Linked DNA regions of Homo sapiens: regions 2, 3, 4, 5, 6 and 7 are each linked to region 1. Evidence: promoter capture Hi-C in 16 types of primary human blood cells and fetal thymus (Javierre and others, 2016). All regions are on one chromosome and are shown on one strand. The core of a region is centred on a gene start or on the middle of the fragment in contact, and the rest is flanking DNA. Distances in the headings are between cores, read along the strand shown. Region 1 holds the start of IRS1 (insulin receptor substrate 1). Region 2 overlaps LOC105373914 (a long non-coding RNA gene). Region 3 overlaps LOC105373914 (a long non-coding RNA gene). Region 4 has its middle 580 kb from the start of NYAP2. Region 5 has its middle 560 kb from the start of NYAP2. Region 6 has its middle 510 kb from the start of NYAP2. Region 7 overlaps LOC105373914 (a long non-coding RNA gene).

Region 1 (3,815 bases), core at 1,290-3,789:
ATGGCACTAATATCCTATGATCAGTGATTATCTTCCATAGGAAACCCATTGGTCTGAACATAATTTGTCACAGCAGTGAGGCTTATTTCATAATTTTTATCGAATATTTAGCAACTGAAATTGTGTTTTTTAAAGCAGAAATGCTTTAACACTGAGAGATATATTTTTTAAAAGGTTTATTATCATAATTAGCTTTTTATGATCAAAATCCTTCCTATGAAGATAATTGTGAGGTACGTGCAAATAAATTTTCCAACCCTCCCCTCCTTCCAGAAAAGAGTATTTTTCCCCCATAGAGGTACAGTACCTTTATTTAGCTTTTTTTGGGGGGTGGGGGGTGGAGGGACGGAGGTAGGGACAGGGCCATTTGAAAAGTAAATGTCCATGGATTTGATTTGTTGTCTTACAAAATGTTAATTACTCCACTACCCCCATCCCAGCGCTAAACATCAAACCTGTGAAAAGCCCTTTGGCCTTATCTGGATTACATTGTTACTAGTAAACAACCCTTTTATAATCTCTCTTTTTTCTTGTCTAGGGTAAAACCAGGCACACAGTTACACTTTTCCACCAACTTCAGGCTTCTTTATTCTGCACCTCCCTGCCCTACCCCCTGTAAGGCACTCTATACCCCCAGAATTTCGGTCACTGTGAGTGCCGCCTCGCTTCCATTTCCAAATATCTGCTATTAATAGCCTTGCTGTAGTGGGCACGTGTGCCCACATCACCAAGCTGTCAGAGGAAAAGAAGGGAGGGCTTTCAATTCAACATGTGTACTCAAATTATAGATTAACCAGGTTTAGATGAGGCTGCATGACGACCGGGAACAGGAAGGGGAGAGGAGAAACGAGAGGCTCCCAGGCTTGGGTGGGGAGGAGCCCCTCTGCAGATGCCCAATCCCCCTAATTTACGTATCGCACACCCCTGAATGGCGCCTATGGTTCTTTTTCTCCTTCATCATCATCATCTTCTTTTTCTTTTTTTACTACGCTTTGCAACCTACCTTGGTACCCTCAACCCTTCTACCCCCACCTTCCCTCTGCAGTGCAAGGCTTGAAAAACAGGCCATCCCACCAATCAGCAGGCCTCCCCGGGAAACTCGCTCCGCCCCTCAGCCGCATTGGGCCGAGGCGCGCTCCCCCGCGGCCCGCCGGGTCCCAGCCACTGAGCATGCCCAGCGCCTCGACTGCTGAGTGCCCAGCCAGCATCCTGCAGTGCCTGGGAGCCTGAGGCCGAGGAGGGTCCCGGCGTAGTAAAGGGGCGGCAACCCCAAACGGGCCAGGCATCAAAATGAGACAGCATTAAACCGAGTGACATCTCTGTGGGTCCTTAGTGCCAGGCGAGCAAGCAGGGACAAACTGCTTGTTTATAGGTCGGCTTAAAAAATAAAAAAACTCTGGGGAGCGTTTGTTTGTGGGGAGACTGATACCGCAAGGTGACCCTGAAAGGGGCGCTTCAAGTAGACCCAGGCTGCTGATCTGGTCCACTCATGAAGTAACCATTTTCCTGTACAGTTGAGCTGGCACCATCCTTGTTTTCTCCCTGTTATCCTTGTGGTCAAGGTTAAAAACTTATAGGGTGGTTCAATGGGTGTGGGAGCTGTGTGTGAAACAAACATTTCAGCCAATATTTGCACAGTAGGGTTTTGGCCTTATGAACCCTCTGAAGGTCCCTAACAGCTTTTTAAAGTCACGGATAGACTTCGGAATATGATAAGGGACCTCTCATTTCCCCTCCCCCATGCCCTCAGCCTTAGGTGTGAGTCCCCCCGTCACACGGATGGGCAAGGGGAGCAGGAGAAAAGGTGATATTTACATTTTCTCCCTACTTGATCAGCAACTAATTCCACAGCGCCGGACGTGAGACACTTCCTGGGGATCCCTGTTCTCCTTTTGTAGTGACCATAACTGCCCCCAGTCACTGCCCTTGGGCGTCCCTCTGTTCCTTCCAGGTACCTCACGGCAGCAAATCTGGGGATCCCAAGGTGGAAGGCTGGCCCAGAAGTCCTTTAGAAAAACCTTAAAAAATACAGATCCCCTCACCATGGCCTATCGCCCTGAAGCCGAAATCTAGCTTTTAAATTTCCTGGGGGAAACAGCCTTGACTAGAAACCTCCCTCCCGTGGGTCAGTCTTACCTGATAGGTAAGAGGCAGCCCAGCTCCGGCGCCCCCGCCTCCCCCCGGCCTCCCACTCGGGGCTCTGTAGCCGCAGTGCCCCCCCGTGGCCCCCCACCCTCACTCCTGCGTCTTCCCGAGCTCGCCCCCTCCCGTTTTCCCAGACTCCCCTCGTGCTTTCGGGTAGCCACCCAAACACCCCCGCCTGCGCCCGCCGCGGGGATTCCTGCGGGCCGGGGGCGCCCCGGTTGGCGCGCGTGTAGGGAGGCGCTGCGCCGGAGCTGGCGGCCGCGCAGGGGCGCTGTCCTAGCGCTGCGCCGGGGTCGGCGCGGGCGCCGCTGCAGCACGGCTGGGGGGCGGAGAGGGGCGGGCGCGGGGCGGGCTCGGCCCGGAATGTAGAGACCCGGGCGGGAGCCTCCCGGCGGCGGCTGCCCGGCTGCCGAGCGCGGAGGCTCCGTCACGTGTTTTTCTCCTCCGAGTGAGACGGCGGCGCGGTCGGAGGGGGCCGGCGCGCAGAGCCAGACGCCGCCGCTTGTTTTGGTTGGGGCTCTCGGCAACTCTCCGAGGAGGAGGAGGAGGAGGGAGGAGGGGAGAAGTAACTGCAGCGGCAGCGCCTCCCGAGGAACAGGCGTCTTCCCCGAACCCTTCCCAAACCTCCCCCATCCCCTCTCGCCCTTGTCCCCTCCCCTCCTCCCCAGCCGCCTGGAGCGAGGGGCAGGGATGAGTCTGTCCCTCCGGCCGGTCCCCAGCTGCAGTGGCTGCCCGGTATCGTTTCGCATGGAAAAGCCACTTTCTCCACCCGCCGAGATGGGCCCGGATGGGGGCTGCAGAGGACGCGCCCGCGGGCGGCGGCAGCAGCAGCAGCAGCAGCAGCAGCAACAGCAACAGCCGCAGCGCCGCGGTCTCTGCGACTGAGCTGGTATTTGGGCGGCTGGTGGCGGCTGGGACGGTTGGGGGGTGGGAGGAGGCGAAGGAGGAGGGAGAACCCCGTGCAACGTTGGGACTTGGCAACCCGCCTCCCCCTGCCCAAGGATATTTAATTTGCCTCGGGAATCGCTGCTTCCAGAGGGGAACTCAGGAGGGAAGGCGCGCGCGCGCGCGCGCTCCTGGAGGGGCACCGCAGGGACCCCCGACTGTCGCCTCCCTGTGCCGGACTCCAGCCGGGGCGACGAGAGATGCATCTTCGCTCCTTCCTGGTGGCGGCGGCGGCTGAGAGGAGACTTGGCTCTCGGAGGATCGGGGCTGCCCTCACCCCGGACGCACTGCCTCCCCGCCGGGCGTGAAGCGCCCGAAAACTCCGGTCGGGCTCTCTCCTGGGCTCAGCAGCTGCGTCCTCCTTCAGCTGCCCCTCCCCGGCGCGGGGGGCGGCGTGGATTTCAGAGTCGGGGTTTCTGCTGCCTCCAGCCCTGTTTGCATGTGCCGGGCCGCGGCGAGGAGCCTCCGCCCCCCACCCGGTTGTTTTTCGGAGCCTCCCTCTGCTCAGCGTTGGTGGTGGCGGTGGCAGCATGGCGAGCCCTCCGGAGAGCGATGGCTTCTCGGACGTGCGCAAGGTGGGCTACCTGCGCAAACCCAAGAGCATGCACAAACGCTTCTTCGTACTGCGCGCGGCCAGCGAGGCTGGGGGCCCGGCGCGCCTCGAGTACTACGAGAACGAGAAGAAGTGGCGGCACAAGTCGAGCGCCCCCAAACGCTCGATCCCC
Region 2 (4,034 bases), core at 1,464-3,963, 910 kb after region 1:
GATCTTCTATTATACAATGGGAATTCCAGGTGAGACATCTAGAGGCAAAAGGCGGAACTGCTTAAAAATTCAACTATCATTAGTAATATTTTGTTTCATATCAATTTTGAGCTACAAAAATCATCTAAAAATATGTACCCATCACTGAATTACTACCCTCTGTTCAACTCATAAAACTTTACATGTTTTAGCATGCCAGACATATGAGCTTAGTAGTTTTTTTTAATTTACAATGATTTGATAGAATGATTTGCATAGATTTTAAACTATCAACACCAAAGCATATTTCCAATTCAAGGAAAATGTATACATATAGAATACATATTATGTGTTATGTCTAGACATGCACACAGACATTTGAGCTTGGACAAAAGCAAGGTCATGCCTGTTTAAAGCTATTAATCTAGATGATGTTTCATTAAAACCAAAGGCATATGTAACATTTGTAATAAAAGCCAAACAAACAAATAAAAACTTTATTTGCCTAATTACATCTAAGACATTCTACTGGATACTGAGCTAATAGTGGTAAAAAAGGCAGAGATGGTCTCTGCCCTCATGGAGTTTATAATCTAGTATGAAGAGAGAGAGACTTCAAAAAGCAACAATAACAGGATGGATTATTACAAATTACAGGAATTGCTATGAAGGAAAGCAGAATATAAACTCATGGAACTGTAGATGTTCATTGACAGAGTGGCTTTAGACATCATCTAGTGATCAAATGTGATATTTCACAAATAAATAATATATTATTTGTGATATAATTGTGATATAGTCTAAGGTGATTATGGGATCTGTCCAAGGTCACATAACTATAGGGGGCATACATCAAATAAGACATAGAGAAAATTGACAGTTGATTATTTTTATTGCAAGAAGAGTTTGAAAATTTTTAATTAATTTTTTATTGACATAATAGATGTACATAATTCTGGGGTATATGGGGTAATATCATACTTTCATATAATTTATAAAGATCAAATCAGTGTATATTAGGGTTCTCCAAAGGGACAGAACTAATAGGATATATGCATATATGAAGGGGAGCTTATTATGAAGAATTGACTCAAAAAATCCCAAGGTGAAGTCCCACAATAGGCCATCTGCAAGCTGAGGAGGAAAGAAGCCAGTAATGGCTCAGTCCGAGTCCAAAAGCCTCAGAAATAGGGAATCAAACAGTGCAGCTTCAAGGCCCAAGAGCCCCCCGGCAAATCACTGGTGTAAGTCCAAGAGTCCAAAGGCCAAAGAACCTGGAGTCTGATGTCCAAGGGCAGGAATAAGGGATGGAAGCATCCAGCATGGGAGAAAGATGAAAGCCAGAAGACTCAGCAAGCCCTCTTCTCCCACCTTCTGCCAGCTTTGTTCTAGCTGCACTGGCAGCTGATTGGGTGGTGCCCACCCACATTGAGGGTGAGTCTTCCTCTCCCAGTCCAGTAACTCAAATGTTAATCTCCTGTGGCAACACCCTCACAGACATAGTCAGACCCAATACGGCTATTTAGGCATCCTTCAATCCAATCAAGTTGACACCTAATATTAACTGCCATACAGTGTGATTGGGTATACATCACCTTAAATATTTGTCTTTTCTTTATGCTAAAAACATTCAAATTATTCTTTTCTTGCTATTTTGAAATAAACAATAGAATCATGCTACTCATCTATCAAATGTTAGGTCTTATTTTTTCTATTTAACTGTATATTAGCACCCATTAATCAACTACTCTTCATTTTTCCTCCCTTCTACCCTTCCCAGCCTCTGGTGACCACCAATCTACTTGCTATCTTCATGAGATCCACTTTTTTTTAAGTTCCCACATATGAATAAGAACATGAAATATTTGTTTTTCTGTGCTTGTTTTATTTCACTTAATGTAATGACCTCCAGTTCCATCCATGTTGTTGCAAGTGACTGGATTTCATTTTTTTATGGCTGAACAATATTCCACTGTGTACATATACCACATTTTGTCTATCCAGTCATCCACCGATGGGCACTTAGGTTGATTCCATATGTTGGCTGTTGTCCCTAGTGCTGCAATAAACATGGGAGTGCAGGTATGTCCTCTATGTATTTTCTTTCTTTTGGATACATACCCAATAGTGAAATTGCTGAATCATATGGAAGTTGGATTTTTAGTTTTTAAAGAACCTCCATACAGTTTTCTATAGTGACTGCACTAATTTACATTCCTACCAACAGTGTACAAGTATCCCCCTGTCTTCATATCCTCACCAGCACCCCTTATTTCCTGCCTTTTTGATAAAAGCCATTTTAACTGGGGCGAGATGATATCTCATTTTGACTTGCATTTCTCTGATGATTAGTGATGTTGAACACTTTTCATTGACTTCTCAGTCATTTGCATGTCCTTTTTGAAAAATATCTATTCAGATATTTTGCCAATTAAAAAGATCAGATTATTTGCTTTTTTTGGTATTGAATTGTTTGAGTTCCTTATATATTTTGCTTATTAATTCTGTCAGACTGATAGTTTGCAAAGATGTTCTCCCATTCTGTGGGTTGTCTCTTCACTTTGTTTTGTTGATTGTCTCTTCACATGTTGTTGTCTCTTTAAGGTCAGCCACTGGTTTCTTTCTTTGTCCATTTAAGGAGGTCCCTGTTTGCTGTAGTTTCTTGTGGATGTATGTCTATGTCTTTGCATTAAAGGATGAGTTATTTATTCCAGTCTTCTTTGTCTGGCTTGTTTTGGTTTTTATTGGGTATGTTTACTTACATATTCTTTGTAATTTACCTGTTGCTTTTCTTTCTTTTCCTACAAGGTTGATGCCTCCTTTTAGGCCCTAGATGCTGCTTTAAGCTCACGTTTGCCTAGGAGCTAGTAACATATCAAACTGTGCCCATCTTGAATGGCAGAGGTCCCAAAGGTAATATCCTGGTAGTGTGGGAAGGCCAGCTAGGCATTCCTGCCGAAGGGCCTGTAGAACAACCTTCCTGCATCATTCTGCTGTTACATGGACACTCTGATCTCACTTCTCCTTTGGCCAAGTTACAGAGCAAAGTTTTTGGGACTGGGTGTGATAGTGCTGCCTCCCCACTTTGTCTCGGAATGTCCCCAGAGATATTTCTGTCTTCAGGCACTAGCAATGATTCCTGTGGGTTGAGGCAGGGAAAAGTTTCTGCTAGGGAGTCCAAGATGCTGGGGAAGCTGGTTGTCCACCTTGATCCCACTTTTTCCAGTGTAGAACCTGTGAATTAGGAGGAAATTGTCACTGTACTTTTTCCTGGGCAGAAAAGGGATAGGGGACTTGTGGATACGGGAGTCTGATTCTGTTCTGCTCAGAGTTTTACATCTCTCTGTGACACCAGGAACTCTCTCATTCTCATGTTTGAGTTCTGGGATATTGCTCATGATAATTGCCATGTGGTGTATTTGTTTTTGGTTTTCGGTGGGGGCAGTAAAACTGACTTGTTTCTGTGACGCCATTTTGGAACTGGAAGTGAAAGATGGTTAATTTTATATACAAAAATAGTCTATATTAAATTTAAATAACCCTTGATTTGCCTAGCTTTTCTGGAGTAAAATGAGATCAGAAAAGCAGTAGAGGAAAAGATTCTCCTTGGTTTACAAATACCAAAAGATAAATAAATTTGGTGATCCTTTTCAGGAGGTTTATCAGTCAGGCTAAGTTATATTTTGATAACAAATAATCCTAAAATTTTAGGGCAACACATCAAGAAAGGTCCCTCTCTCTCATGTCCTATGTGTTTCATAGGTTGCCTGTGTCTGTACCCCGTTTCATCTTCACTTCTGGGAACCAGGCTGATGGAGAAGTCTTCTAGCAGAAGTACTATGGGTCATGATGGCAGAAAGAAGAGCAAACTTGGTGGACCATGTGCTGGCCCTTGATGGGTCTACTCAGATGGGTCACGTATCTCTGCTCACAAGGTGAGTCCCTGGTTTCACCTGAGTATAGTTTTATTGCCAGGAGAGGCATCAAGTATGGGAGAATAATATACTACCTACCACATGCATGGAGTATATATGTTTTTTATATAAAGACTCTAA
Region 3 (3,764 bases), core at 62-2,561, 930 kb after region 1:
ATCCATAGAAACTTAAAGTATAATAGAAAATAAAATAAATAAAATAAAATAAAGTATCCATAGAAAAGGAAAAATGAGCATAGGCAATAAATGTGTGGTTTGTGAGTTCACATCTTTAAAAATGAAGCATGTTATAAATTTAATATGTAAAATACTTTTTAACATGATGTCAATCAACCCATTTTAAATTCCAAAACCACAGAATATTCTTTATCTGATACTAAAACAAGTACCCTTTAGGTAGGTATATAGCTTGAATGTTGCAGTGGTTAATTTTATGTGTTAATTTGACTGGGACGAAGGGTGCCCAGCTATTTGGTCAAACAATATTCTGGGTTTGTTTGTAAGGGTATTGTGGATAAGACTAACATTTGAATTGGTAGAGTGTGAAACGAAAATTTCTCTCCCTGTGTGTGTGGGCCCCATTTAATTAACTGAAGAACTAGATAGAACAAAAAGATTGGCCCTTCTATGAGTAAGAGGAAATTTCCTTCTGTTTGACTGCTACAAACTGGGGCATTTTTTCATGCCTTCAGACTCAAATGGAAATAACCACTCTTTTTGGGTCTCAAGCCTGATGGCATTTGGACTAGAGCTACACCATAGACTCTCCTGGGTCTCCAGCTTCCTGACAACAGATCTTGGGACTTCTCAGTCTCCATAACTAAGTGACCCAATTCCTTATGATAAACTATGTATCTGTATATCCTATTTGTTCTATTTCTTTGGAGAACCCTGACTGATACAAATATGTACTATATGTAGGTAATATTAAATTCTTAAAGGTAAAAACATATAAGCTTTTCTGTATATATGTGTACATTTATTTCATATACTATGTCCTTCTTGATGTTCTGCTCACTATACCAACAATACATAAAATAATGAGCATGAAACAAGTATGGCAGAAATTTAATCCCCATCCTAAAGCAATTTTCATTTTAAAAGAACAGATATTTTGCATGAAGTAGGAAGCAAATGTAGACTATATATATAATTTATATACATATATCACATATATCATGTATATACATATATATCACACATATGAATACATATATACTATAAGTTTTTAGATATAAATTTACATGTATACATAAAATGCTTAAAAATGTGATACAAATCAAAGATATTGCCAGATTAAAATAATATTTGATAGGAAAGTCTTCCAGATGAACAAATAATAAAACTAACTAAAGTGGTTAACTAGAAAACTACAATAAAACTAGAAAACAAATTACTTTCACAAATTATTTCATCAGTTGTCTGAAATGATGGAAGACCTGGAGTTGTGACTGAGGGAGCTTGAGAAATGGAAGTCAGAGAGCATTCCAGCCCGATTAACTTGTAAGATAGAAATGTGGTTTCAGGAACCAGCAGATAGTGGAGGTAGCCAAGGAAGGTGTGGAGGGAGGGCTGATAATACGAAGGGGAAGAAACAAGATGGTATTTAAAATGCCACAGAATACATCACTAAAACTCTATACTCAGCCTCTAGAATGGCTTCACCACAGAGTAAAACTACAGAAGACTGTTTGAGCAGTTTTTGCTGGAATATTCTGAATATTAACGACCTAAGTGAGTGCCAGGTGCCTATCAGCTGAGCATCACATCTGGTTCTGATTATTAACATGTCCTTATCTGTTACCATTCTTGGATAGTGAGTACTACCGGGGGCTTCATGACTTCTTAGTCTTTGAGTTGGGATTTTAAAATACCTGGGTGTTGGCGGGTGGTTCTCTCACTCTACATGTAGCACACTGAGATGCAGAGAGTTTATTTATTAGCAAATCTGCTTACTGAGAGCCTAGAGAGAAGCTTTTCAGAAAGTCCAGAAAAAAGGAATGCAAAATTGTAAAGGCACGGAATGTTCTGATGTGCATCCACAAAGTATACTTTCCTAATTTATTGAAGGCAAATTAAACTGCCTGCCTCCAGTGCTCCTGAGGCTGTGGTAGAGATTGTGACTTCAAGGTACAGTGATCACAGCTCCATGGTTACTAGGATGCAGGATCCAGCAAGCCAGAGAAGAAAGCAGCTACCTTTCTGCTGGAAGAAAAACCAAAACCTCCGGGCAATGATGATTGTTAATACTGGAACTGGATTTTAGATTAAATGGTGTAATCTAATGGAGGTCTTTATAAGCAGAAGCAGGTTTAATATGTACAGGAGAGTACATATTAAATAAGGTAGACTATAAATTAAATGACTCTTGTAAGTTTTTACCATGGCCAATTTAGTTTCAATTATTGATAATATAAAAAGCCCAAATTAATGTATATGATAGAAATAGACCACTGTTGCTCACTCCTTGATCTTGTTTGTGGCTCTCAGTTACCTACAATTTATAGTCACATTTCATCAGCATAGACAGATATCCTAACCTGTTTTTCCAACCTTCTAAACTCTCCCCCAAACTTACTTTCTTCTCCAACACCACATATCCACTCTATAATAGCATTCTTAGTTGCTTAATAATTAGTTCTTTATATTGTATGTTCATGTTGTTTCTTGGTAGCATTAGAGATTGAATTTGTATTTCATGATGCAGCCTTAGCCTTTATTCTCTCTTCTCTTGATACTTCTAGTCCCAAATTCCAGCTTACGTCCTCAGGGAAGGTCCTAATTCCCCACTGTCCGTGATTCTATGTAATTCTTATGTCACTTATTTTCATGATGTCTTTGAGATATCTGCATACCTCTCTTAACAGTGAACTGCACAAAGGCAGGTAAAGACTATATTTTGCTCATCTTCCAATTATTGTTTAATAACCATGATGCATATATAAAAGCATTAGCATGATGTATATTTTCAAAGAGTTGCTTAATTGCATATGCATATTCAATATGCTTATTGGCACATTCTTTCAGAACACCTCCCGGATAACCCACATCATTTGGCAAGGTAAATCATAAATTCTACTGTGGAAGTGTCCGTGACTTTTTCTCATTCTTTCTAATCTGAGTGTCTAAGGCTTCCATAATTTTTACCTAGATTTGAAAAAATTGTCTTCTAACTAGTTTACATGTCTTCAGAGATTCCTGTTTTTAATACATCTTTTACAAAGTTATCATAGTTATTATTTTCAGGTGATTAAGATGTATCCCTGTCTTGTTCAAACAAACAAACAAACACAAATAAACTTTGATGTGTTTTCAGTAGATAATCAGCAAAGGAGAGATTGATGACTGGGGACGCAATGAACTAAAAAGTTAAATCAGACTTACTGGCAACCAGTGAAAGTAAGGATAAGCCTTGCTGGCAATATTCCCATCAGAACATAAATGATGCTCAAACCAGGACACAGACAAAGCCATGGTACTATCACAACATGACTACACATTCCTCACTTCTGACCAACGTGAGTAATTGCTGGTTTTTTTTTCCATTACAACACGAGCCCCATTTTGATCTTCCCACTGCAGCGACACATTTATTAAGATACCCAGTCACAAACTAGCCTCTGTTACTTCACAGCGCCCTATTCAGAACTGACTTTGTCTTCCCTAATTCCTTCTTAAAGTCACTGGACATAAATCCAAGACTTATAAAGGGTCCCTCCTTAATCCCACTCCATAGTCCTGTCAACTTTCCTTTGGAATGTGTTCACCATTGTTGCAGTCAGATAAGTAAACCTAACTCTGTTTAGCTACAGCAATGCTCCTGGTGGACTTTGTTTGTTGAACCTTGATGGACACATTAAGAACCTTACAATTACAAGTTATAATTTCACCCTCCCATCCCAGGGTACTTTCTATTCCCA
Region 4 (4,022 bases), core at 351-2,850, 820 kb after region 1:
CCCTATCCACCAAATTAAACTGAGAAACTCTGATCCTCAAATTCTTGGGGAGACTGATTTGAGTAATAATAAAACTCTGGTATCCCGCACAGCCAGCTCTGCGTGGATTACTCTTTCTCTATTGCAATTCCCCTGTTTTGATAAATTGGCTCTGTCTAGGCAGTGGGCAAGGTGAACCCCTGGGGTTGTTACAATACCAAGCCTGGTCTTTTAATTGGAGAATTTAATCAATTTACATTTAACGTAATTACCGATATGGTATGATTTACACCTGACATTTTGCTATTTGTTTTCTACATCTTAGGTCTGTTTTGTTCTGCAATCTCTTCATTGTTGCCTTCTTTTGTGTTAGACATTTTCTAGTGCACAATTTTAATTTTCTGGTAGTTTTTTTATGATATGTTTTTGAGTTATTAGCAGTCAGTATAGAGATTGCCATTAATACCAACTTAAATTCAATAGTATACAAATACTTTGGTTCTTTTAGACTCCATCTCCTTACATTTTGCTATTATCACAGGTTACATCTTTACACATTATGTGCCAATTAACTTAGATTTTTAATTATTGAATTATGCAGTTGTCATTTAATTCAGATAGGAGCAAAATAGGACATACAAACAAAAATATATTTATAATGTCTTTGAGTTTTACACATATACAAATGTAAATTATTACATTTACTGGTACTCTTGACTTCATTATCTGAATTGGTGTTGTTGTCTAATGTACTTTCATTTGACCCTCAAGGTCAGTGAGGAATAAGAGCTTAGGACCTCTCCTGTCTTTTGTGAGCATGAACACAGCTGCATACAGCCTGTGCATGCACAATGCCTTCTAGATTTCCAGGGATATATTGGAGCTTTTCAAAGCCCTATGGGTATCTCATTCTGCAGCTTTTTCTTTTAAGCTTTTTGACTAGTTTATTGTTTGCCCCAACTTTTATCCATTGCTTCGGGCAGCTGTGATGCTAAAACATTAGACACACACACACTTCCCTGAGGCATTTAGCACTGGAGGAGTTCAAGTGAGTTTGCATAAAGATAAGCTTTTGGAGTGGGGTTTTCCAGGGAACCACAAGACAGGTCAAATAATGGCAATCATTTGGGAATGACGTCTGTTCTCCCTCAAGTGCCAGGAATATAGGCTGTGATTTTTTTTTTTTTTGAAGACTGCCACTGAGGCCGGGCGCGGTGGCTCACGCCTGTAATCCCAGCACTTTGGGAGGCCGAGACGGGCGGATCACGAGGTCAGGAGATCGAGACCATCCTGGCTAACACGGTGAAACCATGTCTCTACTAAAAATACAAAAAGTTAGCCGGGCGTGTTGGCAGGCGCCTGTAGTCCCAGCTACTCAGGAGGCTGAGGCAGGAGAATGGTGTGAACCCGGGAGGCGGAGCTTGCAGTGAGCTAAGATCGTGCCATCGCACTCCAGCCTGGGCAACAGAGCGAGACTCGGTCTAAAAAAAAAAAAAAAAACTACCACTGAAATAAAAACCAGAAGATGAAACCGACTACCACTGAAACAAAAACCAGAAGATGAAACTAGGGTAAGTTAAAACATGACAGAGCCCACTGTTCTTACTGATATTCAACAGTTTTTCTTGACTAAACTCTCCTCTGGTTGCTGCAAGCCTTTTGTTAATTCTCCAAGTTCTAAAAAAAAAAAATCAATTTTGGCAATTTTTGCTAGTTTCTTTTATTGCTTTTATGGAAGGGTGAGCTTTCAGAGATTCTTACTTCTCTGTTTTCACTAACACACTAACAGCATCCTGTGTTTAATGGAACAAGATCACATTATATTGTATTGACTATAATCATTACTTTAGTAATTTAAGGAGTCATCAGTGTGAAAAACGGTTATTTACATTATGTGTATAAATCTACCTGTCCTAAATTATTGTATTTGCTCAGAATTTAAGTGTACCTCAGTTTGTGGTAGCTCAAGGTCAGTATTTACATGCAATCCATATTTTGACCTAAATATTGAACATTGTCTAATACTGCTGACTAGTTTATGAACTATGATATAGATTAAGGTCATCTACCTGGAAATAGTTTATAAATATCAAAATGAAATTACTGTAGAGAGTTGAGCTACAGGTAATTTGGACCCCAAAACTAATGTCATGGCAATGTTTGAAAAGCTTTAGTATTATAATCACAGTTAAAAATGCTTTCCCCTCCCCACTCTTTAAATCAAACTCACACTATCAACAAAACACAGTAGAATAGAAACTACTGCTAATACTTTATCTGGGAACAAAATAAGTTCAGAAATAACTGTGGAATGATGAGGAAGAGAACATAAGCCTAAAATTACATGCAACTATTTTACTTATCTCTACCTAATCTTTTAATTTTGTTGCTTTACTAGTAGATTGCATCCTTCAACAGCTCTTAATTTTTCTGTGGAGCAGAGAACAGCTAGCCATAAAACTAATTGCTTACCCTGAGTGACTATTAGTTGAACTGCTAATGGGAAGTTATGCTTGGAAATGTGGACACAAATGGGGGATTAATAAGTCTGAAAGCAGAGGCTATTATCATATCATAATCTCCCTTTTCATTCTGTTGTCCTAGAATTCTGTAAGACTTCATATTCTTTAGATGATGTATCATGTACATTTCTTCTGTATCAAAATATCAACTGGAAAGACAATGCATCCTTTATTTTAGGATAAAGGTAAACAATGGCACTGTTCAAGAAGGAAGCAGAGATCTGCAGTTTTCAAATAGCAGTTCTTTCAATGATCAAAACATGTCTCTCGCATGAATTCGGAGTCACTCTGAAGTTCACAACTAAACTAACTAAACTGTCTGTTACACTGTGAAGCTTTCACTTCTTGCCCTGCTAAAGGCCAGATTGATATATCCTCTCCCCGTCTTGCCATAGAACTTTGTTAATCCCCTATCACAGCATTGTTCACATTTTATTATGGTGGCATGCTTGCCTGTCTCTTCAGTTACATTTTAAATTTATGAAAAATAAGAATCGACTCTTATTTATTTTTATATCTAACTCCAAGGGAATTTTCACAAATGCCTCGAAAGAAAGGAGCAGGATTTGGTAAAATAGTAATAGAGGTACTTATGTAAGACTATATGGAGAAAAAAGGTCCTTCTACAGAGAAGACATTTAAGCAGATTCCTAACGAATAAGATAAAGCTAAACAGATAAAGCCAAAGTGAGGAAGCAGGGCCTGGGAAGTATTTTTAGGTTGAGGAAAGAGATCATGGAGTAGAGGTAGGTTGAAAAGTAGATAAATGGGTTGTATGAAAATGCAAGGAGGCTGATGTGAATGTTGCTTTGTTTGTTCACAAAGGGAACAAGAGAAAGTGTGGCATGAGACAAGTTCAGCAGCCTAATCATGCAAGTCTTTGGAACAATGATAAAAAATTTTATTCCAAATATTTATTCAAAGTGCAATAAATTGCAATTGAAGATATCAAGCAAGGGAGTGCAAAAATCTAATTTTCACTTTAAAGAGACCATTTAGGCTGTTAAGTGAGAAAGTATTAGTAATGGTGATATGGTTTTGCTGTGTCCCCACCCAAATCTCATCTTGAACTGTAGCTCCCATAATCCCCATGTTTTATGGGAGGGACCTGGTGAGAGGTAATTGAATTATGGGGGCAGGTTTTCCCGTGCTGTTCTCATAATAGTGAATAAGTCTCACAAGATATGATGGTTTTGTAAAGGGCAATTCCCCTGCATGCACTCTCTTGCCTGCTGCCATATAAGACATGCCTTTGTCCCTCCTTTGTCTTCCACCATGACTGTGAGGCCTCCCCAGCCATGTGTGACTGTGAGCCCACTAAACCTCTTTTTCTTTATAATATAAATTACTCGGTCTTGGGTATTTCTTCTTAGCAGTATGAAAATTTACCAATAAAAAGGAACATATTCCCTCAAAGTAGGAGAGTAGTTAGCAGGCTCAGGCAGTACCCTCAATGTTGGATGGATGAGTATTCAGACTAAGAAGGGCTTGGAGTGAGGTGGATGGATATGAGATATGCCC
Region 5 (3,668 bases), core at 1,157-3,656, 840 kb after region 1:
AGAAAGGAAGGAAGGAGGAAGATAGGGAAATAGGAACAAAAGGAGAAATAAAAAACAGAGGTGTTGAAGGTGACGTTAGAGAGCTTAAAGTTTCTCTCAGTGGTTTGAGAAATCACAGATGAACATTAAGCAGGGGTGTTAAAGGACCCCGAGTATTAGAAACAAACAGGCTTCTTGTACATCCAGTATCACACTAACCATTTATCTCATTTAATGTGGTGGGAATTTTAAGTCCCCTAAAATTGAGATTTCCAATCCATTTAAGCAGGTTATACTAGGGGTGCGTGTGTGTGTGTGTGTGTGTGTGTGTGTGTGTGAGAGAGAGAGAGAGAGAGAGAGATTTAACAGAAAACACTTGCTCATGAAGCACTTGAAGATTCTATATGGTACCAGTAAAGAGAATTTGCCAACACACAAGTGTCCAAAGAGATCACTTCTTTAGACAGCCATGAATTAATTGACTTAAAACCATGAAAATCATGTTTCAGTGAAAATATTGAGTACATTAGTAGGGAGAATTATCACCCATCCTGTATATGTAGTCCCAATATTACATCCAATGTTTATAGTTGTCTTTCTTGTCTTCACTTTATAGTATTTTCCACAAATTTCCTGAAGGTTGGAGCTGTTGTGAAGAAAAGCTGGTAATACATATAATGTGAACACTAGTAACAAAGCAGTATTTAAGGTCTCTTTCATGAATTCCAGTATTAGATTCTTCTGACAACTGGTCTTGGGAGACGTTCTCAGCTTGACATCATTACATGACACTATGGAAGAAAATAAAGACATACAAGTACCACTGAACCACGATTTTCAATTTATTTTATCACTGGAATTTGTATGTGTAATTTTTTAGCCTGCTTTTTGAATGATTTCCCATGGGGAACAAAAGAATTGAGATCCATATATAATAAGCCTATTTAAGTGAGGTATTTGAAATAAGCTAATTTCTAACAGTTTAATCTAATACTGGCTTTAGATTTTCTGGAAGCAGAGGCAAAGATAAAAAATTTGGATTTTGTGATTTGCTTTTCCTTATTTTTTTCCAAGTCACATGTTTATTTTATGGTTTTATATGGGACAAAGTTAAACAGAATAAGGAAGCTTTTCACTTTCTGGTTTCTCAAGAAAATAATGTTGCTCAAGTGTATGATTCTAATATCAACTATCAGCCAAGGCAAAGGGTACAGCAGTGAATCATTTTAAAAGAGTATTTTTACCATCTTTATTTTCTTCAATCAGACATTTATTTCATGCTTTTGATGGGCCAGGCATATGATAGTTTTCAGAGATACAAAGTGAATTAATATATGATCTATGTTATTTGATAAATATTTATAAAGAGCCTAAACATTCAGTAAAATGTTAAAACAAAGTCCACAAAGTCTAGAGTCTGGTGAAGGTCCTTATGGGTTCTTTAATAAATCTGAAGGCTGGATTTGTCTTCATTTAACTATTTCAAGCAGTTAGAAAACATCTTCATCTTAACCATTCTCAGAGATCTTTAGTTATTTGTGTAGATCCAAGTTTCTGTTACCATATTCCTTTTATCTTAAAACTTTCTTTAGCATTTCTTTTAATGCAAGTCGGCTAGTAATAATACTCTCTTTTTTTGGTCTTTAAAAGTCTTTATTTCACCTCTGATTTTGAAAGATATTTTTGGATATACTCACACTATTTATCTTGAAATGTATTGTCTGATAGTATTAGCCGTTCCAGCCTTATGTTTTCTGTTTGCATGAAATACCACTTTCTTTTCGCTTTACTTTAGCCTGTATTTTACCTATATTTTTAGATTTGTATTTTTTATTTATACACCATATTTGTACATATCCATGAGGTACATGTGAAATTTTGTTATATGCATAGAATGTGTAATGATCAAATTAGGGTATTTACGGTATTCATCAGCTCGAGTATTAATTTACCTTTCTTTGTATTGGGAACATTTTAGGTCTTCTAGCTATTTTGAAATATAAAATACATTGTTGTCAACTATGGTCACACTACTCTATTTACTACTACATAATAGTAGTAATAGAAATACACAATACATTCTTGTTAACTATATCCACACTACTCTATCAAATACTCTGCTATTGAATACTAAAATTTATTTGTTCTATCTAACCACATGTTTGCACCTATTAACCACCCTCTCTTTACCCTCTCCCTAACACACCCTTCCCAGCCTCTGGTATCTATCATTCTACTCTCTGCTTCCATTATATCAATATTTATTAGCTCCCACATATGAGTGAGAACATGAATATTTATCTTTCTGTGCCTGGTTTACTTCACTTAATGTAATGACCTCCAGTTCCATCCATGTTGCTGCAAATGACATAATTTTTTTTTTAGTGGCCAAATAGTATGTGTGTACATTAAATATATATATTATAAATTTACATATAAATTATATATATAATTTTCTTTAAAAATTTATTCATTGATGAACACTTAGGGTGATTCCATATCTTTGCTAATGTGACTAGTGCTGTGTGTTTACATCATTGGGGTTCAGGTATCCTTTTGATATATCAATTTCCTTTCTCTTGGATAAATACCCTGTAGTGGGATTACTAGATCATATGGTAGTTCTATTTTTAGCTTTTTGAAAAATATCCATACTGTTTTCCACAGAGGCTGTACTAATTTACATTCCCACAAACAGCATATAAGAGTACCATTTTCTCCATATCCTCACCAGCATCTGTTGTCTTTCGTCTTTTTAAAAATAGCCATTCTAACTGTGCTAAGATCATATCTCATTGTGGTTTCGATTTTCATTTTCCTGATGATTAGTGATGCTGAACAGTTTTTCATATACCTTTTGGCTCTTTGTATGTTTTCTTTTACGAAATTTCTATTCATGTCCTTTGTCCATATTTTAATGGGATTATTTGTTGGTGTTTTTGTTACTGTCAGGTTGAGTTCCTTGTATATTCTGGATATTTAGTCCTTTGTTGGATGAACAGTTTGGAAATATTTTTTCCCATTCAACAGGTTGTCTTTTCACTCTGTTGATTGTTTCTTTTTCAGTGCAGAAGATTTTGAGTTTAATATAGTCTGATTTGTCAATTGCTGATTTTGATTGCTGTGATTTTGAAGTTTTAGCAGTAAAATCTTCACCCAGACCAATGTCCTGAAGTGTTTCTCCTATGTTTTCTTCTAGTAGTTTTATAGTTTCAGGTCTTATATTGAAGTCTTTAATCCACCTTGAGTTAATTTTTGTATATGCTGACAGATAGAGGTCCAGCTTTATTCTTCAAGTTTTTTCCTCTCTGTGCCTCTAATTGGAAAATGCATATATACACATTCAAATTTACTAACTTTTAATGTCTTCTTCATTCTGCTCTTTAGTCCATCTTTTATATATGTATATATACATATATTTATATTTAAGTTGTACATATTGTATTTTTCATTTTAGAGTTTCTTTTTCTTACCTTATTATACTTGTTCGTACCACAAGTACAATATTAAACAGAATTATGATAGCACCACACTTGCTTTATTGTGGACCTTATAGGAAAATCTTCCAAAATTTTATCAGTACATGATGTTTGTATTAGATAAAAGAAGTTTTTTTTTCTAGCTAATTTTCTAAGGCTCTTTATATGAACAGGGGATATTATCTATCAAATGATTTTTCTGAACTTATT
Region 6 (3,681 bases), core at 583-3,082, 890 kb after region 1:
AATTTATTCTCAGTACTAGAATAATTTCAATTGACTTCATTGCTTAACTTTATTACTTTTGTTTAAAATATCATTTTTTATAAGAAATTTCTTTCAACTCTTTAATCAATATATTTAAATTTGATAAAGATAGTACACACCATACAGATATAAGCCAAATTTGTGTATTTTTTTTAACTATCTCAATCATCCTTCCAAATTGGAAGGAGTACATCCAATGATGTACTCGAACTTTATTAAATATTGTGTTTCCAGTAAAAAAAAAAAGCATTGTGAATTTTTGATTGAATATACTGCCTTACTCATAATATTGCTGAAAGTAGAAATTTTTGCTCTCAATCAGGCTTTGATGAGAAACAAATTCCCTGATTGTAATTTTATATTTCTGATTTTGTGAAGAATTTTCAACAGCCTAGCTTCCAGCTCTATACATTTTAACTCATTTGCCTCTTCCCGCCTGCTTTTGGGACTGGGTTCCATGATTCCCATTCATAACACAATGCAGGCCTGGCTTTGTGTTCCCCCAGCAGGTGAGTGGGAATGGACAGCAGTGGGACTACTCCCAGAAACTGTCCCCAGCTAGCATACAGAAGTGACAGGGACCACATAAAAACATCCCACTAAATAGAAGTTAAAACATCCCTAACTCAGCTTCCCCTTAGCTGAATCTCCAAAATGCCATGACCAAACAAAAAGTAGAGGGAATTTGGAGTGGTAAGCAACAGTTTTCTTCAGTAAATATTAACAAAATATATGACTTTTGCAAAAATTGTATAAAAATAAGAACATGTGAACACACAGAGAGGGCTCATCCCAGATTCCTGGAAAATGTTCTGCAAGTGAGCAATTTTGAAGCTTATTCTTTATTTATTTCACAATAAACCTGACTGCAGTGGGAGGAATTCTGAGATAGTTTCTCCAAGACTCTCAGCCACTGGTGTACAACCCTTCTCCCAGTTAATTAGTATACTATTCTAGGTAACTGCTATGAAGCGATTTTGCAGATATCATTTAGGTCTTAATTCAGTGAACCTTGAGATAAGGGAGGTTATCCAGGTAAGCCTAAGCTAATTGCACCGGCCCTTTAAAATCCACATATTTTCTCTGACCAGGCACAGAAATGAAAGTCAGAGAGACATGCACTAGCTCACCTGGAAGAAGACAAACATAGGTTGTAAACTACCTGCGGGGCGTCACATGGTAAGGAACTAACAGCAACCTCTATTTGCTGCGAGTTGACTTCGGCCAACAACTAGAAGAAAAATGGGGATCTCCATCTTGTAGCTTCAGTGAAATCAATTCTGTTGACAATCAATGCGCTTGAAGTAGAAACTTGAGCTCAAATGAGACCATGGCCCCAAATCATATTTAAATTTCATCCCAGTGAAATTCTAAGAAGAAAATCTAGCCACACTACGCCCAAATTTCAGACCCACAGAAACTATGAGTAATAAATCTGTGCTATTTTAGGCTGCCAAGTTTGTGGTAATTTTTAAAATACCTTTCTTAGCAAGAATTAGGCATAGGAAGTAGGTTATAAGCTGGAGATATACAAACTCATACATGCAAAACCAGGGTGCGAGGGAAAGCGCAAAACGAGATGGAGAGGACTTTATTTACCACAAGTAAATTTGGTTTAGGGATAACTGGTGGGTGCATGGAGACTGGACCCACCTCCCCATGGATGTGAAAGCACCTCAGAATCACGAGTCAGGAGTGCTGGTCTTCAGAAGGCAGAGCATTGTGGGTACCCGGATTCTGTAAAGGCTTCTTTGAGCACAGCCAACACGGAAGTTTGAGGGGTACAAAAATAATGAACAAGTCAAATAGTGTTTTTTTCTGTGTGATTTGCACACAGACTCTCCAGGTTTCCTCCACAAAGTCTTTGCACAATCTATCAATTTAAGGGGATTTTGTTGCAAGTGAATACTCCGTGGTGAGAGTGAAGAGACATAAAATTGGTTTCAAGTTTGGGATGGGGCCAGTGCAGAGGAGCGTGAGAACCCCTTGTACCCAGGAATAATTAACATCCTTGCTCTTGGACAAGGATGTTCTAGGCATCAGCTAACTTCAATCATGACCCCAAATTGAGAGTACAAAAGAATTCTGAGTAAAATATTCATAACAAACACATGTACCTGTAGATGTTTGAAAAAGGACATGCTGTGAGATCAGAAGTGCCATCAGGGAAACAAGGTGGCATTTGCTTTGATGAATTCTCTAAGGTTCAGGGTTGGAACTCTGCTTTCATCTCAGAAGACTGATTTATGCAGCAGATGAAGAGGGTCTGTATCTCTGGGGAGAAGCAGGGGAGGGAACTACTCGGTAATCAAGCACCTGGAAATATATTTACACAACAATGTAAATTGACAATAAAAATATAATGTCAAGGGTACTGGTATATTTCTTTTTTTTTTTTTTTTTTTAGAAGGAGTCTCACACTGTCACCCAGACTGGAGTGCAGTGGTGCAATCTTAGCTCACTGCAACCTCCCTTTCCTGGGTTCAAGCGATTCTCCTGCCTCAGCCTCCCTAGTTGCTGAGATTACAGGCACTTGCCACCACGCCTGGCTAATTTTTTGTATTTTCAGTAGAGATGGGGTTTCACTATGTTGGTCAGGCTGGTCTAGACTCCTAACCTCGTGATCCACCCACCTAGCCCTCCCAAAGTGCTGAGATTACAGGCGTGAGCCACCACGCCTGGCCGGTCACTGGTATATTTCTATTGGAATGCCCAGCACCATTCTCTTCCCTTAAGTGTATTCACCCAAAAAGTTGAATATAAAAGGAAGTGGCCTTGATAAGCTTGGAATTAGAGCAAATGAAGTCATGGTAATGCTCCCAATGTTTAATAGCATCAGGATCTAACAGCCACATACTGCCGTCTTCATATCAGGGGTGCACCTGCCACTCTACCTGGAGTTGCATATTTCTATCCTAGAAAGTCCTTCTGCTACATTTTCTGGGTAAGTAGATATGCATTAGCACTGGGACTGCTTCTCAAATGTGATACTTTCCTCATTGTAATTGTGCTTCTAGTGAAGGATTTATCATATTATATTATTAAATGATATGCTCACTTAAATTATAAACTTTTTGAGGCAGGGGCCTACACTTAACAGTATTCATAACCCAGCAGCTAGCATAGTCTCTGACACATTCATAGATCCCCAGTAAATGATTGTGAATGAATAACCTAATAATGAATGACAGATGAACGAATGAAGTCTATGGGTGCTATTTTATAGACAGTCATCTTTTTTTTTCACTCATCTTTTCATTCTTCGTAGGGCTTGATATATTTCATTTTTTTCCTCTAATCAAATACTGAGATATTTGGCATCCATTCTATAAGGATTCTGTAGATGTGCTCAGTAACTTGTAATTTTAAAAGTAACTAAACATCTTTGTTGTAACATCTTTAAAGTGCTCTTTAAGTGTACGGTGTTAGCAGAGTTGCTTTCAACGTAGATCCACTCCAACCTAGCTTATCTTGGTTGTACACATACTGTTCTATATGCATATTTACAAAGGCACAGTTCAATTAGAAATTTATTTTTTAAATGCATAAAAGAAATACCAGTACTAATAGGGAATGTAAACCTTAAAGTAGCTCAAATTTTGAAAGTTAAAAAGTTGCTTTATCCTGGTTGTATCTTTGGAGGGCATTTGATACAACTTA
Region 7 (4,259 bases), core at 670-3,169, 960 kb after region 1:
AGTCATTGAACATCTGTTATATGCAAACTCAGTATGTTATCATGAAGTGCACTTTTACATTCAGAGTACAGCATATTAATGACATACACATATAATAAAGTAAGCTATTTACAAATAGACAATATGTAATAGATGTGCTTTGTAGCCCGTCATATACTAGAGTTGAAATTTCTTCATGCCTTACTTTCTTTAGCAGTAAAGTAGAATATACACTGTACCTTGGTACAGACTGTCTAGCTACTCACCAAATATACCCATTCCTTTTGGGTGCAGAGCTAGGCAACACTTTTCCAGCCTCCTGTGCAATAAGATAAGGCTATGTGACTGAGTTCTATGATGTATGCCACTTCCAAGCCTGGCCAATAAAATTATCCCATTTGATTCTCTACTATTTTTTCCTTCATCCATTTGGTGGATTGTATTGCCTACAAAGATCATTGGAATCCACGTAATTTGTATATGACTGTGCCTCCTTCAGCCCGAGTCACCTGAAAGACTGTATAGAAAATACACCTTGTTCTGCTCCCAAGTACATAACTGTGCTTTACATGAGTGAGAAAAAAATATCTTTGTGTAAGGTACTCAGATGATGGGATTTCCCTGTTATAGCAGTCAGCTTCCTTTTAATTAATGCAAATGCACACTACATAGGGTTGTTGAAGGCTTATTTGAGATAGTACTCACAAAGCGCTTCATAGAGTTCCCAACACATACTAAGACCTGCAATAAATGTTACTGCTATGGCTAGGTAATCCATATTTAGCTGAACAGGAAGAAGACAAACCATATCCAATTATTTCCCTAAAGATTACTAGGAGTTACGTATCTGAATACACTTTAGCTAATTTATTTTAAATTTGCTATTCTAGGTCAATGCTGAAGCTTACAACTACCAAGAGTTAAAAAGTCAATGTATGAAACTGAACCAGAATTACCTTTAAAAAAACACAAAAGTCTAAGCATCATAGTTCATTCCAAAAATTTCTTCCAAAAGCTCTTTGGGGCCTATAATTTTTTTTTTATTTATTTGTATCCAAATAAAACTTCATATAGAGATTGATAACTATGAAGGCAAATTGGTATGAAAATAAATCATAAATAAGTCATCCTGGACTTTTATTTTTTAAACTCATGTCACGGGGCTGGGTGCCATGGCGCATGCCTGTAATCCCAGCACTTTGGGAAGTTGAGGTGGGAGGATCACTTGAGCTCAGGAGTTCGAGACCAGCCTAGGAAACATGGTGAAAGCTCATCTCTACAAAAAATACAAAAATTAGCTGGGTGTGGTGGTGTGCACCTGTAGTCCCACCTACTTGGGAGGCTGAGGTGGGAGGATGGCTTGAACCCGGGAAGTAGAGGTTGCAGTGAGCTGAGTTGATGCCACTGTACTCCAGCCTGGGAGACAGAGCCAGACCCTGCCTCAAAAAAATAAAATTAAAAAAAATTAAAATTAAAAACTCATTTCATGAGTACTGAATTTAAAAAGACAAAACAAAAATGAAACATCTTTCAAATCATCAACTTCAATACTTTCATGAGCTTACAGCTTCCTAAGAAAATCTACAAGTCAAAATTTTTTATTAAGTGATCATCAACAATTCCAGGCTATTTGCCTAGATTTTGAGAAAATATTTTTACTGCCTTTATTCATCATCATCTAATGACAGAGAGTTGGAGAGAAAAGTACCTGGTCAGATGTCAGCTTAAGTTACATAATTCATTTTCCATACGTGAACAAGAAATTAAATTCCAAATAGGCATGCACTATTCCATAGTGAACAGATCCAAATTCCTAATGATACTTCCACGTCTGAGAAATACAAGTATAATTTTTCTAAAAGGAAGATGGTACTTGATGTAATTCTATTTGTTAAGATATAGAATTTGGCATAAAATCATCATCTCAATTGTGCCTCACGCACGTGGATTTGGCTGCTTGATAGCCCTAAGACCTTGTAGGTGGCTTTAAGTGTTTAATTAGAGCAATGTGTGGCCATAACTCTGATCTTGGAACTACTCATATTACAAAAATATATAAATAATGTAATCAAAATTATGTTTTTCATAGTTTTCTATGCTTACACAATTCCTTGTACAAATATAATTAGGATGACCCTCACATTTTATTCTGTCTGAGCCTGTAAACATTTTGAGAACAGGCTTGTGTTTTACTGGTCCATCTGTGACCAGCAAGTGTTCAAAACTTGGAACGAAATCTTTGTCTAACTCAATGTTTATTTATTGAATGAGAGAAAGACATTTATCTGAATAATCTGTTTCATAGAAACTCCTTTGATTGCAGAGATTGACTGTGAAGCTCTTTATGAAAAATGATATTTATTTTTGTTTGTTGGAAATAGTTAAATACTACCTGGGACCAAAGTAGAATTGGAAATAAAAGGCTTTGCTTGGCAATGTTCTGTTTGATTCTTTACACTGTCTTTTTGCCTAAAATTAAAAGAACTGTTCAGAAGATAAAAAGATACTAACCTGATCCTATTAATTTATAATAAGTTGCTGATACTATAAATCTAGTGACTTTGATACAAGCAATAGATCCTCCAAAACCTAACATGTACCTTAATCCAGATTATATATTAAAAAGACTTTTTTCTATCTTTTAGTAAATTTGCAGTCCTTTAAACAGGATAAAGTTATAACTTTAATGTACTTTATGAGGTTCACCTAGAACATTATTTTAATGTTTCTAAGGACACTGTGTTCTTTGCAGGGTCACAGTGACATGAACAAAGCAGCATGAATGACTAATAGAGAAATCTGTGGTGCCTCTGCACAGATTTCTCAATGTGAACTGCTGGATTTAACATCGGAATTCAAAACAAAATCTGTTTCTGATTAGATACAATTAAAAAGTTTGTTTTGTGTCAGGTACAAACCATGACCCCAATACCCACCCCTGCTCTGCTTTCTTGGAATTAGTGAAATTCAAGCTTTTGTGTTTATAAAGATTACAGTAAAAAATTAAGTCACTTGTGTCACAATTTTCTGGATAATTAAACAAGCAAACAAAGCTAGGAAATGAAGTAAAAATCATTGGAATGCTCTTTTAACCATTTGATTATATTTGTTCTAAAGAAAATGGTATTTTAAAAGTTTGCCTTCATTCTGAATACTAATTTGCAGTGGCGTGGTGAGTGACTATTATGTGTATGCTTTTGTATTGGACTAAAAGAGTCAGTTCTTAACTTGCAATTAAAGCAAATGGTAAGAGCTTCCTGATGGAGTAAATTCAGCATTTTAGCGGTGGTTGTGGATTTATCAGCTAGCTCCCAAGCCTGAGCTTTTAGCATGTTCTTCCCATAGGATTTCAGATCTTCGTATCATCAGACAGCATGGAATTCTGAAACCAGAATCCCAAATTTTCAGCTTGAGAGTATTAAACTTTGTTATTTTCTGTTGTTTTTGAAATTATTAAAAGTGATGTTACATTTCCACCCTGATATGTATGTAACTGTACAGATGTGGTCAAATCATACATATGCTTTTAATGCAGTACTTTAAAATATGTTTTTGCTTATATTCTGTCTTTTCTTCTCCTTCCTGTCCATCCCCCTCTCATCTGGTCTCCCATAGCCCATGTTAATAACATAGAAAGTAGCCTTTTATCTTTCTCATGCTCAGTAATCATTTCAATGATTATTTGATTTCAATTGATTCAATTGATATGAAATAATGAATATATATGTGTTATAAATATTTGTGATTTCTATTTTCCTATAAACATGCATATAGATACAGGGTTTTGATCATCATTTTAAAGAAAAACAGGATAATATGAGAGATCTATTTTACATTTTCCTTTTTTCACTCACCAGTACGTTGTGGACATATCTCCAAGTTAATTGCTACATAGAGGGATGCCAAGGGCAAGGGAGTGGCAGGGAGGATTTACACTGGTGGGGAGCAGTGTATTGTCTTGACCTCCTGGCCTCAAGTGATCCTCCCACCTTGGCCTCCCAAAGTGCTGGAATTACAGGCATGAGCCACGGGGCCTGGCTGAGAAGTATATTATCAGAAAGATTGTTTAGAATTACCAGCAGCATATCTTGATATAAATAAGCAGAGTGTCTTCTATTTGGGTAAATGTTTTACAGACAGAAAGCCTCCTTATAACCATTATCTAGGAGGACTGCTCTCACCACCTCTACTTAGTACACTGAGTGTACACTTACCCCTCATTCATTATTTTCAATAGCTGTATAATATTCCAGGACGTATATGTTTCATAACTTATGTTG

What was found. Contacts are between HindIII fragments. The CHiCAGO score rates a contact against its expected background, and 5 or more counts as called.
Region 2: a fragment that was not itself captured here is called in contact with the fragment with the promoter of IRS1 in region 1 in 8 of 17 cell types (M2 macrophages, M0 macrophages, M1 macrophages and 5 more); the score reaches 12.6 in M2 macrophages.
Region 3: a fragment that was not itself captured here is called in contact with the fragment with the promoter of IRS1 in region 1 in 2 of 17 cell types (M0 macrophages and M1 macrophages); the score reaches 8.8 in M0 macrophages.
Region 4: a contact is called between a fragment that was not itself captured here and the fragment with the promoter of IRS1 in region 1, in 1 of 17 cell types (fetal thymus). The highest score is 5.1, in fetal thymus.
Region 5: a contact is called between a fragment that was not itself captured here and the fragment with the promoter of IRS1 in region 1, in 1 of 17 cell types (M2 macrophages). The highest score is 5.1, in M2 macrophages.
Region 6: a contact is called between a fragment that was not itself captured here and the fragment with the promoter of IRS1 in region 1, in 3 of 17 cell types (neutrophils, M2 macrophages and M0 macrophages). The highest score is 5.8, in neutrophils.
Region 7: a contact is called between a fragment that was not itself captured here and the fragment with the promoter of IRS1 in region 1, in 1 of 17 cell types (M0 macrophages). The highest score is 5.9, in M0 macrophages.

The regions. Positions count from the first base shown.
Region 1 is chr2:226,798,544-226,802,358 of GRCh38, reverse strand. IRS1 (insulin receptor substrate 1) reads left to right here and starts at 2,539. Exons shown (of 2, transcript NM_005544.3): 1 at 2,539-3,815. The coding sequence starts at 3,621. It also overlaps a transcript of RHBDD1 not described here. RefSeq lists silencers at 1,001-1,210, 2,171-2,240, 2,261-2,680, 3,671-3,720. The HindIII fragment of the contact is 8,747 bases long and covers 1-3,815 here.
Region 2 is chr2:225,885,537-225,889,570 of GRCh38, reverse strand. It overlaps LOC105373914 (a long non-coding RNA gene), which reads left to right. Exons shown (of 7, transcript XR_007088110.1): 2 at 3,742-3,914. It overlaps LOC107985992 (a long non-coding RNA gene), which reads right to left. Exons shown (of 3, transcript XR_001739907.2): 3 at 853-3,213. Among named protein-coding and RNA genes, the nearest start is that of NYAP2, 490 kb to the right of the region's middle. The HindIII fragment of the contact is 6,048 bases long and covers 1-4,034 here.
Region 3 is chr2:225,866,824-225,870,587 of GRCh38, reverse strand. All of the region lies in intron 2 of LOC105373914 (a long non-coding RNA gene), which reads left to right. All of the region lies in intron 1 of LOC107985992 (a long non-coding RNA gene), which reads right to left. Among named protein-coding and RNA genes, the nearest start is that of NYAP2, 470 kb to the right of the region's middle. The HindIII fragment of the contact is 1,018 bases long and covers 803-1,820 here.
Region 4 is chr2:225,978,117-225,982,138 of GRCh38, reverse strand. No RefSeq gene overlaps it. Among named protein-coding and RNA genes, the nearest start is that of NYAP2, 580 kb to the right of the region's middle. The HindIII fragment of the contact is 1,099 bases long and covers 1,051-2,149 here.
Region 5 is chr2:225,962,809-225,966,476 of GRCh38, reverse strand. No RefSeq gene overlaps it. Among named protein-coding and RNA genes, the nearest start is that of NYAP2, 560 kb to the right of the region's middle. The HindIII fragment of the contact is 2,593 bases long and covers 1,110-3,668 here.
Region 6 is chr2:225,909,048-225,912,728 of GRCh38, reverse strand. No RefSeq gene overlaps it. Among named protein-coding and RNA genes, the nearest start is that of NYAP2, 510 kb to the right of the region's middle. The HindIII fragment of the contact is 1,949 bases long and covers 858-2,806 here.
Region 7 is chr2:225,841,708-225,845,966 of GRCh38, reverse strand. The region is part of intron 2 of LOC105373914 (a long non-coding RNA gene); the gene reads left to right. All of the region lies in intron 1 of LOC107985992 (a long non-coding RNA gene), which reads right to left. Among named protein-coding and RNA genes, the nearest start is that of NYAP2, 440 kb to the right of the region's middle. The HindIII fragment of the contact is 2,069 bases long and covers 885-2,953 here.